Linked DNA regions of Homo sapiens: all the other regions are linked to region 3. Evidence: promoter capture Hi-C in 16 types of primary human blood cells and fetal thymus (Javierre and others, 2016). All regions are on one chromosome and are shown on one strand. The core of a region is centred on a gene start or on the middle of the fragment in contact, and the rest is flanking DNA. Distances in the headings are between cores, read along the strand shown.

What was found. Contacts are between HindIII fragments. The CHiCAGO score rates a contact against its expected background, and 5 or more counts as called.
Region 1: a fragment that was not itself captured here is called in contact with the fragment with the promoter of LINC01548 in region 3 in 3 of 17 cell types (erythroblasts, megakaryocytes and M1 macrophages); the score reaches 5.8 in erythroblasts.
Region 2: a contact is called between a fragment that was not itself captured here and the fragment with the promoter of LINC01548 in region 3, in 3 of 17 cell types (neutrophils, monocytes and non-activated CD4 T cells). The highest score is 8.8, in neutrophils.

Annotation. Positions count from the first base shown.
Region 1 is chr21:32,999,499-33,004,032 of GRCh38, reverse strand. No RefSeq gene overlaps it. Among named protein-coding and RNA genes, the nearest start is that of OLIG2, 24 kb to the left of the region's middle. The HindIII fragment of the contact is 235 bases long and covers 2,804-3,038 here.
Region 2 is chr21:33,346,031-33,350,452 of GRCh38, reverse strand. It overlaps IFNAR1 (interferon alpha and beta receptor subunit 1), which reads right to left. Exons shown (of 11, transcript NM_000629.3): 7 at 1,163-1,362; 8 at 910-1,064. Among named protein-coding and RNA genes, the nearest start is that of IFNAR1, 23 kb to the right of the region's middle. The HindIII fragment of the contact is 3,016 bases long and covers 848-3,863 here.
Region 3 is chr21:33,167,609-33,171,649 of GRCh38, reverse strand. It overlaps LINC01548 (long intergenic non-protein coding RNA 1548), which reads left to right and starts at 1,414. Exons shown (of 4, transcript NR_024102.1): 1 at 1,414-1,509; 2 at 1,817-1,954; 3 at 3,069-3,207. RefSeq lists an enhancer at 2,133-2,202. The HindIII fragment of the contact is 7,514 bases long and covers 1-4,041 here.

The DNA of each region.
Region 1 (4,534 bases), core at 1,672-4,171, 170 kb after region 3:
GGGAGTGCCACTGCCCTGGCTGTGCCAGGTCTGGTGTGGAGTGGGAGTCTCCCCATAAGGCCTGCCAGGTACAGCCTTGTAGTTTCCCACAGCCAGGCCTGAAAAATCACAACTAAAAGTCAGACTCCTCAGTGGGAGGTTCTATTACTTGCCATGGAAAACATCATAACATAACAATTTGGAATCTCTTAGTAACGAGGAAAAAAAACCCAACTCAGATGGGTTTAAAAAAATAAAGGATACGTGATTTTAAAATGGACAGAGGACTTGAATACACATTTCTCCAAAGATGATATATGAATGGCCAACAAGTATCTGAAAAGATGCCCCACGTGACTAACCATGAGAGACATGTAAATCAAACCTACAATGAGATATCACCCCATACCCAGCAGGATGGCCACTATAATAAAAACCCCAGAAAATACCCAGTGTTGGCAGGGATGTGGATGTGTTCATCCGTCTCTTCACTAGCTGTTAAATGCTACTAGTGTTAGGCCCTGAGCATAGAAAAATGGTTAAGACAATAGATGTAGACAGTAGTCTACTTAGGGACATTGTCAGAAGAACAAATACAGTAACTGCTGTAATAGATATACATACACTATGTGCTGTAATTTAAAAGTACTATAATAGAAATTTTGTGTATTAATGTATTTATTTATTAAGGGTCTCACTCTGTCACCCCGGCTGGAGTGCAGTGGCACAATCATAGCTCACTGCAGCCTCCAATTCCTGGGCTCAAGCAATCCTCCTGCCTCAACCTCCCAAAGCGCTGGGATTACAGGTGTAAGCCACTGTGCCCAGCTGCTCCTGACAGTTTTATGAGAAGATCAAGCACTTTTATTCCTGCTAAGTTCCCAGTAAACCTCTCCTAACCTTCCATTGGCTGGATTCATGTTATTTTTCATTGAGCCAGTCACTGTGGCCAGTTGGATGGGATGTGCTGATTGGATTCACCAATCAGGGCCCATTCAGGAGTAGAAGGGAGAGCTCACTTTTTCAGAGGCACATGGGAAGGTAGTATAGTTAAAAGAAAATGAGATGGAGGCAACTAGAAGGGGGAATGGATGTTAGGCAGGCTACAAGATACAGTTGCCAATTACATTGTGACATATGGGTTGCTAACCTGGCATAAAGAGTTCAAATTATTGGCTGGGCACGGTGGCTCATGCCTGTAATCCAGGCACTTTGGGAGGCCGAGGGAGACAGATCACGAGGTCAGGAGTTCGAGACCAGCCTTACCAACATAGTGAAACCCCCATCTCTACTAAAAATACAAAAATTAGCCAGGCATAGTTGCGCACATCTGTAGTCCCAGCTACGCAGGAGGCTGAGGCAGGAGAATCACTTGAACCCAGGAGGCGGAGGTTGCAGTGAGCTGAGATTGTGCCACTGCACTCCAGCCTGGGCAACAGAGTGAGACTCTTTCTCAAAAAAAATAAATAAATAAAGAGATTTCAAATTATTTTAATGGGAGAGGTAGCTGCAGCTTTCCCTGTGTTTAGCCAGACTAAGAGCCTCCCCACTAAACCAATGACAGCTGAGGATATAAGATGTGTATCTCAAGGTGTCAGCCACTCCTTGGCCATAAGTCCAGACCAGTGACTAGAGGTCTGGCAGTAGGTATTAAATTTTTCCGGCCTGTGTGATGCTTCTCTTCTTCCCTGTCCTTTGTGGAGTCATAGATATGAGCTACCAGAAGACAAGTGGAGGAAAATGGCTGGAAAAACAGACAGAACCTGATATTAGCATTCTTGGTACTGAAAGACCTGGGCTCATCTTCTGTTTCTGTAATTTTCTGGCTGTGTGAGCTTTGGTAAATTTCAGAACTTTTGTGATTCAGCTTCATCTATAAAACTGGAGTAATGATGTGATGATCAAATTTGCAGGGTTGAGATAAAGATGGAATGACATCAAGGTGCTGCCCTATAGAAGTACTCAGTAAATGGGAGTTATTTTTTGGGATTAATTTATTGAGGGCTTTGTATGTACCAAGTGCTATGCTAAGTGCTAGAAATATACTATGCCATTTCATTTTCCCAACAAGTCTATGAGGTAGGCATTTTATCTACATTTTACAGTTATGAAAACTGAAGCTCAGAAAGGTTATATAACTTTTCTTTTTCTCACCCAGACAGCAAGTGGATTCGGACAAGTCTGTCTGATGCCTCGGATGGTATTTTATTTGCTACATTATACTGTCTCCTGCACTGCTGATGAAAAACGGTTGCTCAGCTGAAACCTATTAGCCCCCAAGGTGATCTGTGGATGAGTTTCAGGGAATCTCTCAGCCCCTTTATATGATATGCAGACTTCTGTGTATATATTCACTTTTCTGGAGAGAGAGTTTATAGCATTCAATAGAAAGCTGTCCCTGTTCTCCAAAAAATGGTAATTTTTAATAAGGAGAAATCACATAATATATGTAGCAGAGTTTTATTCCATTTCCATCTATCCAGCTATGCATGGGTTGGACAATGGGTAAAAACATGTAGTTAGAGAGAAGGTATAAATTCTAATGTTCAATAGCAGAGTAGGGTGACAATAGTCATATATTTCAAAGTAGCTAGAAGAGAGATCTTGGATCTATCCATCCAATAAATATTTACCCAGGGCATTCTTTTCATCAGGCACTGAACTAAATGCCAGGATTACCTTTGAAAGACAGGATTTCAAGTATGTAAACATTTGTTTTACAATAAAGAAAACTTGCATCTACTGGTGAGATATGTTTTTCTCTGATAATGACTATTATGTAAATTGTTCTATATTCCCTTTATACTTTGGTGGCCAGAAAGCTTAGACTAAAAATTCTTATATTCTTATTTTAGCTCACATTGATTCTTACTCTTTAACTCCATTTAAAAATCTACATTTATTTTTTACTATATGTATTGGCATTGTTGGCTGCCTCAAATTGTCTATGAAATGAGCTGAGAAACAAAACCAATTTATTTAAAAAAAAAAAAAAAAACCAAACAAGCACAATTAAATTTTTGTTGTCTCACTTTTTATTCCATGACTCATGGGAAGCTTTAGGAATATTCAACAATAATACTCTTCATGTATCCAGTGGAACTTATAATTATGTGAGTTTTACACTGGTTATGTATTATTAATCTCATATCAAGTGGAGGAAATAAAGCTCAGATTTTGCCCAAGGACTGATAGGAAATGGCCTTATGCTCTAACTTCAGTGTGGCACTCCTCATGCCATTCTTCCAAGAACGCACATCAAACTTCTATTTCCGGGCATTTTTGTTTGTACTTTTAAACTAAAAATAAAATACAGGCAACATTTTAGACAGTGTAGCCGACCTCTTGATTGCCTACCCAAATCCCATTCCTTTTTCTTCCTTTCTAACAAAGACCTTATTTTTTTTTGTGGTGCCATTGTGGCCATATTAAAATGTCCAACTTCCCAGACTCCCTTGCAGTTAAGGGTGGCCATGTGACCCATTCTAGCCAATGTAATGTTGGCAGAAATCCAAAGAGTAGCATCTATTCCCAGACAAAAACACAAAAGATTGAGAGGAAAAGCCTTGTGGTTCTTTTCTCTCTTCCTGCCTGCAATACGGGCATCATACACAGAGCAGCAGCAGCCATTTTTCGACTTTAGAGAAGGAAAGCCTCAAGTTAAGATTAGTAGAGCAGGAAGAGCAAGCCAGTCTGAGTCCCAGTGGACATGGCTGGTCAAGCAACCACTCTAGCCCTACACTGCTTACCTCGTGCTTTCTTGCTATGTGAGGACAATAACCCTCTTGGAGGTCTCGACCACACTGGTAAGGTTTTCTGGGTCAAACATAATCCTTACTCTTAAGGCAGCTTAAATAAAGTGACAAAACTATTGATGAGCATTTTTTACTCTCAAATGACCAGAAATCACTTACCTAGGAATTGACGAGAGAATACTTATTTCGTTTTCATTGTCTAGATGGCCACTTTATTAACAACATGGCCTAATCCTTCAATAAGAGAAATCACTGGTTGATTCTATCCCAAATTACTCCATGTAAGGAAAGAGATTAAGGTTGAAGTGACTCCTGTACAGTACTTTGAGAGTATATTGTGCAGGATTCCCTTTGAGACTCTTCAATTCAGTATTTACTTATCTGTCCTTTCAAGATTGATTAGCAATTATTTATGGCAAAGATAAAGCAGCCAAACTGTGAGAGGAGCATTTCTTGGAATAGTGATTTATTATTTATTAACATCAGAAATATTCAGTTACAAAATTTGAGCAAGAGAGAAAAATGTAAGAGGAAAACAGCAAATTATCTGAAATCCTACCATCAGCATAACCAGAGTTAATATTTGCTATAGAACAGTCCAGGTCTTTCTTTGTGCATATGGCCCAATAGATGGATAGAAAAGGGGAGTGTGTGTGTGGTGTGTGGTGTGTGGTGTGCAGTGTGTGTGTGTGTGTGTGTGTGTGTGTGTGTGTCAGAGAGAGAGAGAATTGGCTTGTCCATTTTTATTTTTAAAAACTGTTGGGATTTTGTGGAATCTATAGATCAATTTGGGGAGAACT
Region 2 (4,422 bases), core at 1,106-3,605, 180 kb before region 3:
AATACTAAGGAATAAGATTTTGTTGGGCAAAGCTGAACTTTGGAAGAATGCTTTCCAATGGTTTTGGAGGAAAACAAACAACTGTACTACATAAATTCTTTTGTCCCATAAGAACCAATTTTTGTCCCCTTGGAGGAGCCACCAGGGGACATTTGACAATATCTGAAGATGTTTTTGGTTGTCACAACTAGGAAGGAACACTACTGGCATCTAGTAGGCAGAAACCAGAATGTTGCCAAGCATCCTGCACTGCACTGGACAGCCCCCTCCCAAGGAACTATCCAGCCCAAACGTCAATAGTGCTGAGAATCCCAGGTTTAGATGAATACATGGGAATCATGTTAAAAATGCAAATTCCTGAGTTCCATCCCCAGAGATAATGATTCAGTAACAATAGGCTCAGGAATCTGTATTTTAAAAGCAAACTGGGGCCCAGATGCAGCTCACCCATAACTCTACAGTGCAAAACATGAAAAATGCTCATAATCTTCATTTTGTTAATATCTGAGTTAATCACATTTTTTTTTTTTAAAGACAAGCTGTCAGTCACTCTGTCACCCAGGCTGGAGTGCAGTGGCACGATCATGGCTCACTGCAGCCTTGACCTCCCAGGTTCAAGTGACCCTCCCACCCCAAGTAGCTGGGAATATAGGTGCACGCCACCACACCAGGCTAATTTTTTAAAATTTTTATTGAGACAGGGTCTCCCTATGTTGCCCAGGCTGGTCTCAAACCCTTAGGCTCAAGTGATCCTCTCGCCTTGGCCTCCTGAAGTGCTGGGATTACAGGCCACTGCATCCAGCCCACATAAAGTTTAAAAATTTCCCCCAAATTTTACATTCAAGCTTTATTTACCCAAATCATAATTATAACTCTAAGTTACAAAATTATACTATACAGTCTTTTTACCTCAGCATTTGAAGTGTTTTCCCAAAAAATAATTTCATAAATCAGTGGATAATCCTGGATCACAGGCGTGTTTCCAGACTGTTTTGGAGCACCGATATAGATATGGAATGAATCACTAAGGGATCTAATGTTAAAGACTGGAGGAAGTAGGAAAGCTAGAAAAAATTTGTAAAGAAATAATGTTCAATTAGAAAAACAATTTTAAAAACTTGCACCAGAGAATTACAATCTCCAGTAAAAACTACTGCCTTACCTTGTATTTCAGTATCAAACTTTATCTCTTCAGACCAAAAAGATGTGTTATTTCCATCAGATGCTTGTACGCGGAGAAGGTAAATTCCTTTTTGGAAAACGTTTTGAGGAAAGACACACTGGGTAGTTTTGACATTTTCACAGTCAGGTATTTGTTTCCATTTATACAAATGGTTTCCAGGATTCCTTTTTAAAAAGGCGCTTTTAAGACAAATATTTTTTAAATTCATTAGATATTTATTAAGTATTTACAATTGCCAGACACTATGTTAGGGGCTAAGGTTACAGAAATAAATAGTATCCACACTCAGGAAACTCACAAACAATGGAAGAGATATGCATCTAACATAAAAGAAAACCAAAGACTGTTCCAGACTGTGGTCATGTTGTGCTCTGCTGGAGGTGGCTCATATCAATATGCAAGAACATCTGTTAGTTAGAATTTCCAGGAATGCTGCAAGCTGGTTTATTTTTTTTGGCTTTTTTTTTGAGACCGAGTCTCGCTCTGTCACCCAGGCTGGAGTGGAGTGGTAGGATCTTGGCTCACTGCAACCTCTGCCTCCTGGGTTCAAGCAATTCTCCTGCCTCTGTCCCCCTGAGTAGCTGGGATTACAGGTGCACGCCACCAGGCCTGCCTAATTTTTGTATTTTTAGTAGAGATGGGGTTTCGTCATGTTGGCCAGGCTGGTCTTGAACTCCTGACCTCAGGTGATCCACCTACCTCGGCCTCCTAAAATACAAACTGGTTTTTAAAGAAAAACCATTACTAAAAATTAAGTTATATAAATTTGCAAATAAAAAATTGTTTTAAAGACAGAGGTAATAAATAAATTCATCTTGTCCTAATTATTTTACTACATTTTATTTTCTAAGCTCTTGGGGCTATCTTTATCTATTGTAGCTATATGATAGTGGTGTGCTACTGTGCATATGTTCCCAACTCCATATTCAGGGACATCAGGCTGGTGGCTTGAAAGTGGCCATGGTGGGAATATTTATATCATAAAAATCAGCAAACACTACAAAATAGGACTTTTTCTTTCTGGAAAGCCAGCTGCTAAACATGCGCCAGCATACCAATGGACACTGATTAAGTGCTAAAATAGAGACACACTGCGGGGTTATAAGAGCAAGTATAAGTACGAGACTAAAGAGGTTAAGTAACTTGCCCAGAAACCAACAGCTAAAAGCATCTCAGTTCAAGCCCAGAACTCTAATAGCCTCCTGACTGGTTTCCTTATCTCTCTTTAGTGTCTCCTTAGTCCACTCTCCCACATACCATGTCGCCGCATGCACCTTCCTCAAATCCAGAGCTCAGGTTAACTATCACCCCAACACAAAATCCCCAAAAGCCTACAGGACAGCCTGAGGTTGACCCTAATCTTGTCCCATTCTACTTATTCAGCTTTCTTCCCATTGCCACCTGGTGTCCAAATGTTCTGCTACTCTAGAAGGACATCCTCCCCACTGGAGAAGGCAAAATTCTGAGATGGCCCCCAAGATTCCTGCCCCCTGGTGTACACATCCTGTATAATCCCCTCCTCTTGAGCATGGGCAGGACCTGTAAATACGATGGAGGCCCTCCTCTCATAATTAGGTTACATTAAGTGGCAGAAGAGAAGGTATTTCACAGATGTAATTAAGGTCCCAAATCAGTTGAATCAAATGAGAGACTATTCTGGGTGGGCCTGACCTAATCAGATGAACCCCTTAAAAGAGGATCTAGGCCAGGCATGGTGGCTCATGCCTCTAATCCCAGCACTTTGGGAGGCTGAGGTGGGCAGATCACTTGGGGCCAGGAGTTTGCGAACAGCCTGGCAAACATGGAGAAACTCCGTCTCTACTAAAAATACAAAAAAAATGGCTGAGCGCGGTGCCTCACGCCTATAATCCCAGAACTTTGGGAGGCTGAGGCGGGTGGATCACCTGAAGTCAGGAGTTCGAGACCAGCCTGGCCAATACGGTGAAACCCCGTTTCTACTAAAACTACAAAAATTAGCTGGGTGTGGTGGTGCACACCTGTAGTCCCAGCTACTTGGGAGGCTGAGGCAGAAGAATCACTTGAACCCAGGACGCGGAGGTTGCAGTGAGCTGAGATCATGTCACTGCACTCCAGTCTGGGTGACAGAGTGAGACTCCGTCTCAAAAAAAAAAAAAAAAGGATCTAGAGGTCAGACTCTCCCTTCCTGATGGCCTCTAAGAAGTGAGCCACCATGAGCTCTAGAAATAAATTCTGCCAACAACATGTGAGCTTGGGAGCGGCCCCCAAGTCTTGTATGAATGACTGACTCCTTGACTGCTTAGCAGAAGAGCCAGCTAAGCCACGCTTGGACTCCTGACTCACAGAAACTTTGAGACAATAAACAGCTGTTTAAGTTGCTAAGTCTGTGGTAATTAGTTACAGACACAGAAAACTAACATCTAATAGTTGTCTACTTAAAAAAAATCTGAATTAACAATCAAGGCCTTGTTCATACCTTATCTCTTTCCTTATGGCTTCTTTGGTCTCTTTAGCCCCTATTCACCTTTACATTTTCAATTTCTGCAACCCTTATAATTTGTATACCACTCTTTAGTCCTAAACCACACAACACTTTGCAATGTTGGCTAACTGCTTTCAATTTTTGAACCACGTTTGATTCTGCTGACTCTTTCCATTTCTTCAGTGCTTTGTACAATATGGTAAGTACCCAAAAGAAGCTTAGAGATCAGCTATCAGAAATACCTCTCATTATCTATTTGGTGACCCTATTATTTATTCACTTCTGAAAGTGAGGTATACACAAAAGACTACTGAACAGTTTCCTGATTGGTTTGTGAGGTTATATATGCATTGTGGGGCACATATGCACATAAATGCATTTGCATTCTACCAGTCACCCTTGGTTCAAAATTAACACTAAAAGATAGAAATTGATCATAGCGGTACTTACACTTCCCTTCTCCCTCATTTTTTCTGTTTCTTTCCAGTTTCTTCTGACTTTTCCTTTCCTGTCTTAGCTATACTTGCCTTTGCTCTCTCTACTCCTCTGCCACCAATGTATATCTTTCTTTCCATCTCTTTTCTCCCCATAACCCATTTTTCCTTCTACTTAATTTTCCTCTTCTCTTTTCTCTATTCATCTCCTACAATTTTCCAATCAATATAAACTACATGCAGTTCTCTTTTATCAGCTTTTTAAAAATTTTAATGCTTAGAGATGGGGGTCTCACTATGTTGCCCAGGCTGCAGTGCAGCGGCTACTAGCAGGTGTGATCATA
Region 3 (4,041 bases), core at 165-2,664:
AGCCCCATCTGTTCCCAGCACTTGTGTTGCTCTGATCTCTCCATTTCCCTGACTCCCAGGCCAGGGAGAGTTCTTGTCCTCCTACCCTGCAATCCCTGGAGATGCGCTCCCCCCAACCGCAGCCCAAAGTGCCTTTTCATGGGGCTGTAAGGCAGCTGTCACGAGGTAAATCCCACTCTTTACCCCGCCAGCAGGACAGGTAGGGACAGGTGGGAGGAATACGGGAGGAAACAGCTCCCACTGGTGACTGCCGGACCCTCTCCTCGCTGGCCGCAGACCCTGGAGCCACTTCCCTACCGTATCCAGAGCAGGCCCAGCCCCCGACAAAGGGACCTTTATATGGTGGTCCTGGAATTTTAGTTGGGTTCCCGTAAATGCAGACCCTGACAAGGTCTTGGGCACAGGAGGTTTATCTGAGGGGACTCCAGGAAGCAGGAGTCAGGGAGAAGGAAGCAGGAAACAGAAGTAGACGTCATTACTGAGATTGCTGCTGGAGGCAACAGGGGTCTTGAAGGTAAGAAACATGTCCTTACGGGAGAAGCTGCCTTGGTGGGTTTGGAAAGTGTGAAGAGTTCGCAGGCGTGCTCATCATCAACTAAGTGGACAGGTGAAAGCTGGAGGGGCTCTGCAGAAGCCCTGAGTTGCACTAAAATCTGTACTAATCCAAATAGTGGGTCTAGATTCCCTCTCCTACTCAAAATGACTTTAACTCCTCCAATTTAGCAAATATTGGTTGAACATCTCCTACTGTATTTAATGGAATGTAAGAGATCATTGACTATAAGGCACGCCATTATTTTAAGAGGCTCTAAGAAAAGAGCTTCCAACTCAGCTATGACACTCTATGAAAAGTAAGACTTTCCTAGGTCAGAAGCACAGAAGTGTAAAAAGAATGTTGGTCTCGGGATGGGTACCATGTGCACTGTAGCTTAATGGGCATAGTGGGGCATTGTGACATAGAAACTGCCCTTGCTCCCAGCAGAGGAGAAAAAGCGTGTAAAGCAATGTCAGTGATAACAAGCAAAAATAGGACAGGGGAGAAAGCCAAGAGTCTTCAGACCACAAGAGAAGGAGAGATTAATTCTGGTAGGGAGGTATCAAGGAGGCCTTCCTGGATGAGGGGGTGGCATCTGAGCTGGGCTCAGGAAAAGGTGGGGCTTGAACTATTGGGGATGAAGGGAAAGGCATTCCCGGCAAGTGGGAACAGCACAGGCAAAGGCTCTGAGAGGTCCTAGAAATAAAGTTATTGCACTTCAAGGGGGTTGTAAGATTTATGGGTGAGGATAAGGAAAAAGTAGAGAATTAGAAAAGCAGTGAACTTACCCCTTTACCCAGAAATCCCCCTCCTAAGTGCATGGCCAAGAGAAATTTGCCCTCAAGTGCACCTTTTCCCTTTAGGAAAATCCACCTGGATGGACAGCAGCAGAGGGAGGAGGAGGCAGGACAGACCAGAAGAGAGACAATGAGGTTCTGAACCTAGATGTTGGCCAAGGGAGCAGAGGAGGGCAGGTGAATGGCGCTATAGGGGATACTGTAGCAGGAGGGTTGACTGGACTCAGCAACTGGGGAGGGAGTAGGCAAAAAGAGAGCCTGGGAACTTAGGACAAGAAGCAGGGTATTTTTTTTTTTTCAAGGGAGAGGTAAGCAACAATGATTTACTTGTTCTTACACATGGAACTCTCCAGGGCACTACACCTGCATTTAAATCACTTGGCTCCTGGCACATGGCTCTCCTCCCATTTCTCTTTCTGTCCACTCCCTCTTCATTTGTCCTCTGCCCTCTTCGTATGACTGTTCCTTGGGGCCCTGTCTCCAGGTCAGGAGGCCCTCGCCCTGCAATCACCCTTCCTGGGAGCCTTCACTTCACCTGTGATCTCAAGACCTCTCCCTACTGCCTGACTCGCGCCGAGCTTATGGAACATCTTCCCTTGAGGGTCGCAGTCCATTCGATGAGGTATTTTCCCCATGAAATCCCTTATCTTTGGGAACCTCTTCTTTTCCTTGTGCGTCCTATGTGGGTGGATGGAGAACCACTCTCCACGTGGTTACTCGGTCCAGAAGGGCGGCTGTCTGTACAAATGCGCCTCTTCCTTTCACTTCCTCTATCCAACCAGCTTCTTCTGCCCACCTCCCTTTCATGCTCCTTTCACGCTCCTTTCACATGCTCTTGGCTCACCGTTTTTTTCTTTAAGTTTTTAGAGACAGGGTCTCGCTCTATCACTCAGGCTAGGGTGTGCTGGCACGACCATGGCTCACTGCAGCCTTGACCTCCTGGGCTCAAGCTATCCTCCTGCCTCAGCCTCCTGAGTAGCTGGGACCACAGGCACGCACCACCATGCCTGGCTAATTTTTTATGTTTTGTAGAGACAGGGGTCTCTTTCTTGCCCAAGCTGGTCTTGAACTCCTGGCCTCAAACAATCCTCCTGCCTTGGCTTCCCAAATTGCTGGGATTGCAGGAGTTTGCCACTGCGCCTGACCTGGCTCGCCTTTTTTGCTCCTGGGCGTTGCTCTGACAACCGCAACAAGCTGTCACCTGACAGCTGTGGCAGTGGGTATCTGCTGTGGCAGGCTTTCTGTCCAAGCCTGCGGGGACTTGCTTAGCTATACTGGCTTGTGTGTAAACTTGGAAGCTCAAGGGAGGTGGCTTTCCTTGGGGGAAAACTTTGACCAATAGGGGCAGGAGCTGATGAGCTCATCTGTCTTCCATCCATGTCTTGGGTGGACAATTCTGAGGCATCTTTCACACGCTTCCTCAGGGGGTCTCCAGGGGATCCAGTCCCAGCAGCCCATGGAGGTAACCAGGCCAATAACACCACACTGGGATGCTTCTTTCTCCTCCCACTATTTTTAAAATTTTTAATTTTTAAAACTTTTTGTTGAGATGCGGTCTCCCTGTGTTGCCCAGGCTGGTCTTGGCCTCCTGGCCTCAGGCGATTCTCCTGCCTTAGCCTCTCAAAGTGCTGGGATTACAGGTGTGAGCCACCACACCAAGCCCACCTCCCTCTTTCACTCCTCCCAGCCCCCATTGCTGTTACTTGGCATCAATTCCTAAACAGCCTGCACATCAGCCCTTGTCACAGGTCCTGCTTCTGTGGGGAGCTCAAGCGCGGACACCCTTGGAACACTCCCCAAGTCTCTTCCTTCCCATCCAGCACCACTTCCCTAAGTCACAGCTGCACCACCTCTCATCTGGACTGCTCACAGCAGGTACCTAGTTGATTTGCCTCTAATCTTGTTCTGTTGTAATCCATTGACACATTTTAGCCAGGATGGTCTGTATTAAATGAAAATCTATCTATGCCACTTTTCTGCTTTAAGTCCTAGAGAAGAAGCATCTCATTGCCTACAGAATAAATTCCAAGCTCTATAGCATGGAACACGAAACATCTCATCAGCTGGCCTCTCCCACCCTCTCTTTCCTGCCTCATATTTCATTTCTTCCTCCTGTTCAATAGCGTGTTGGCTCCAAGCTGCTTTCAGTTTGTGTGCACGTGCCACACTGTTTCATGTCTGGGTGCTTTTGGTCATGCTCTTGCCTGGATGCCACCACCTTCTTTGGCCTGGCTGATGTCCACATGTTCTTTAAGCCTTGATGTGAGCATAATCTGTGGCCATTGCTGGTGCCCTGCTATGGTGCTCTGCTTATCCCCACTGTGGCCTGATTCCTCTGTGAAGCAATGCCCTGTTTATCTGAGTTCCTTCAGGAGAGAAACTACATCTAGTTAACTCTAAATCTCCAAATATGTAGATATAGATATAGATATATCTCCAAATATATCTATATATGTATTTGGAGATTTAGAGGTAACTAGATATGAGACAGAGTCAGGCTCTGTTGCCCAGGCTGGAGTGCAATGGCACCATCTCAGCTCACTGCAACCTCCACCTCCCGGGTTCAAGCGATTCTCCTGCCTCAGCCTCCCAAGTAGCTGGTATTACAGGTAGGCACCACCACGCCTGGCTACTTTTTGTATTTTTAGTAGAGATGGGGTTTTGTCCTGTTGCCCAGGCTGGTTTTGAACTCCTGACCTCAAGTGGTCT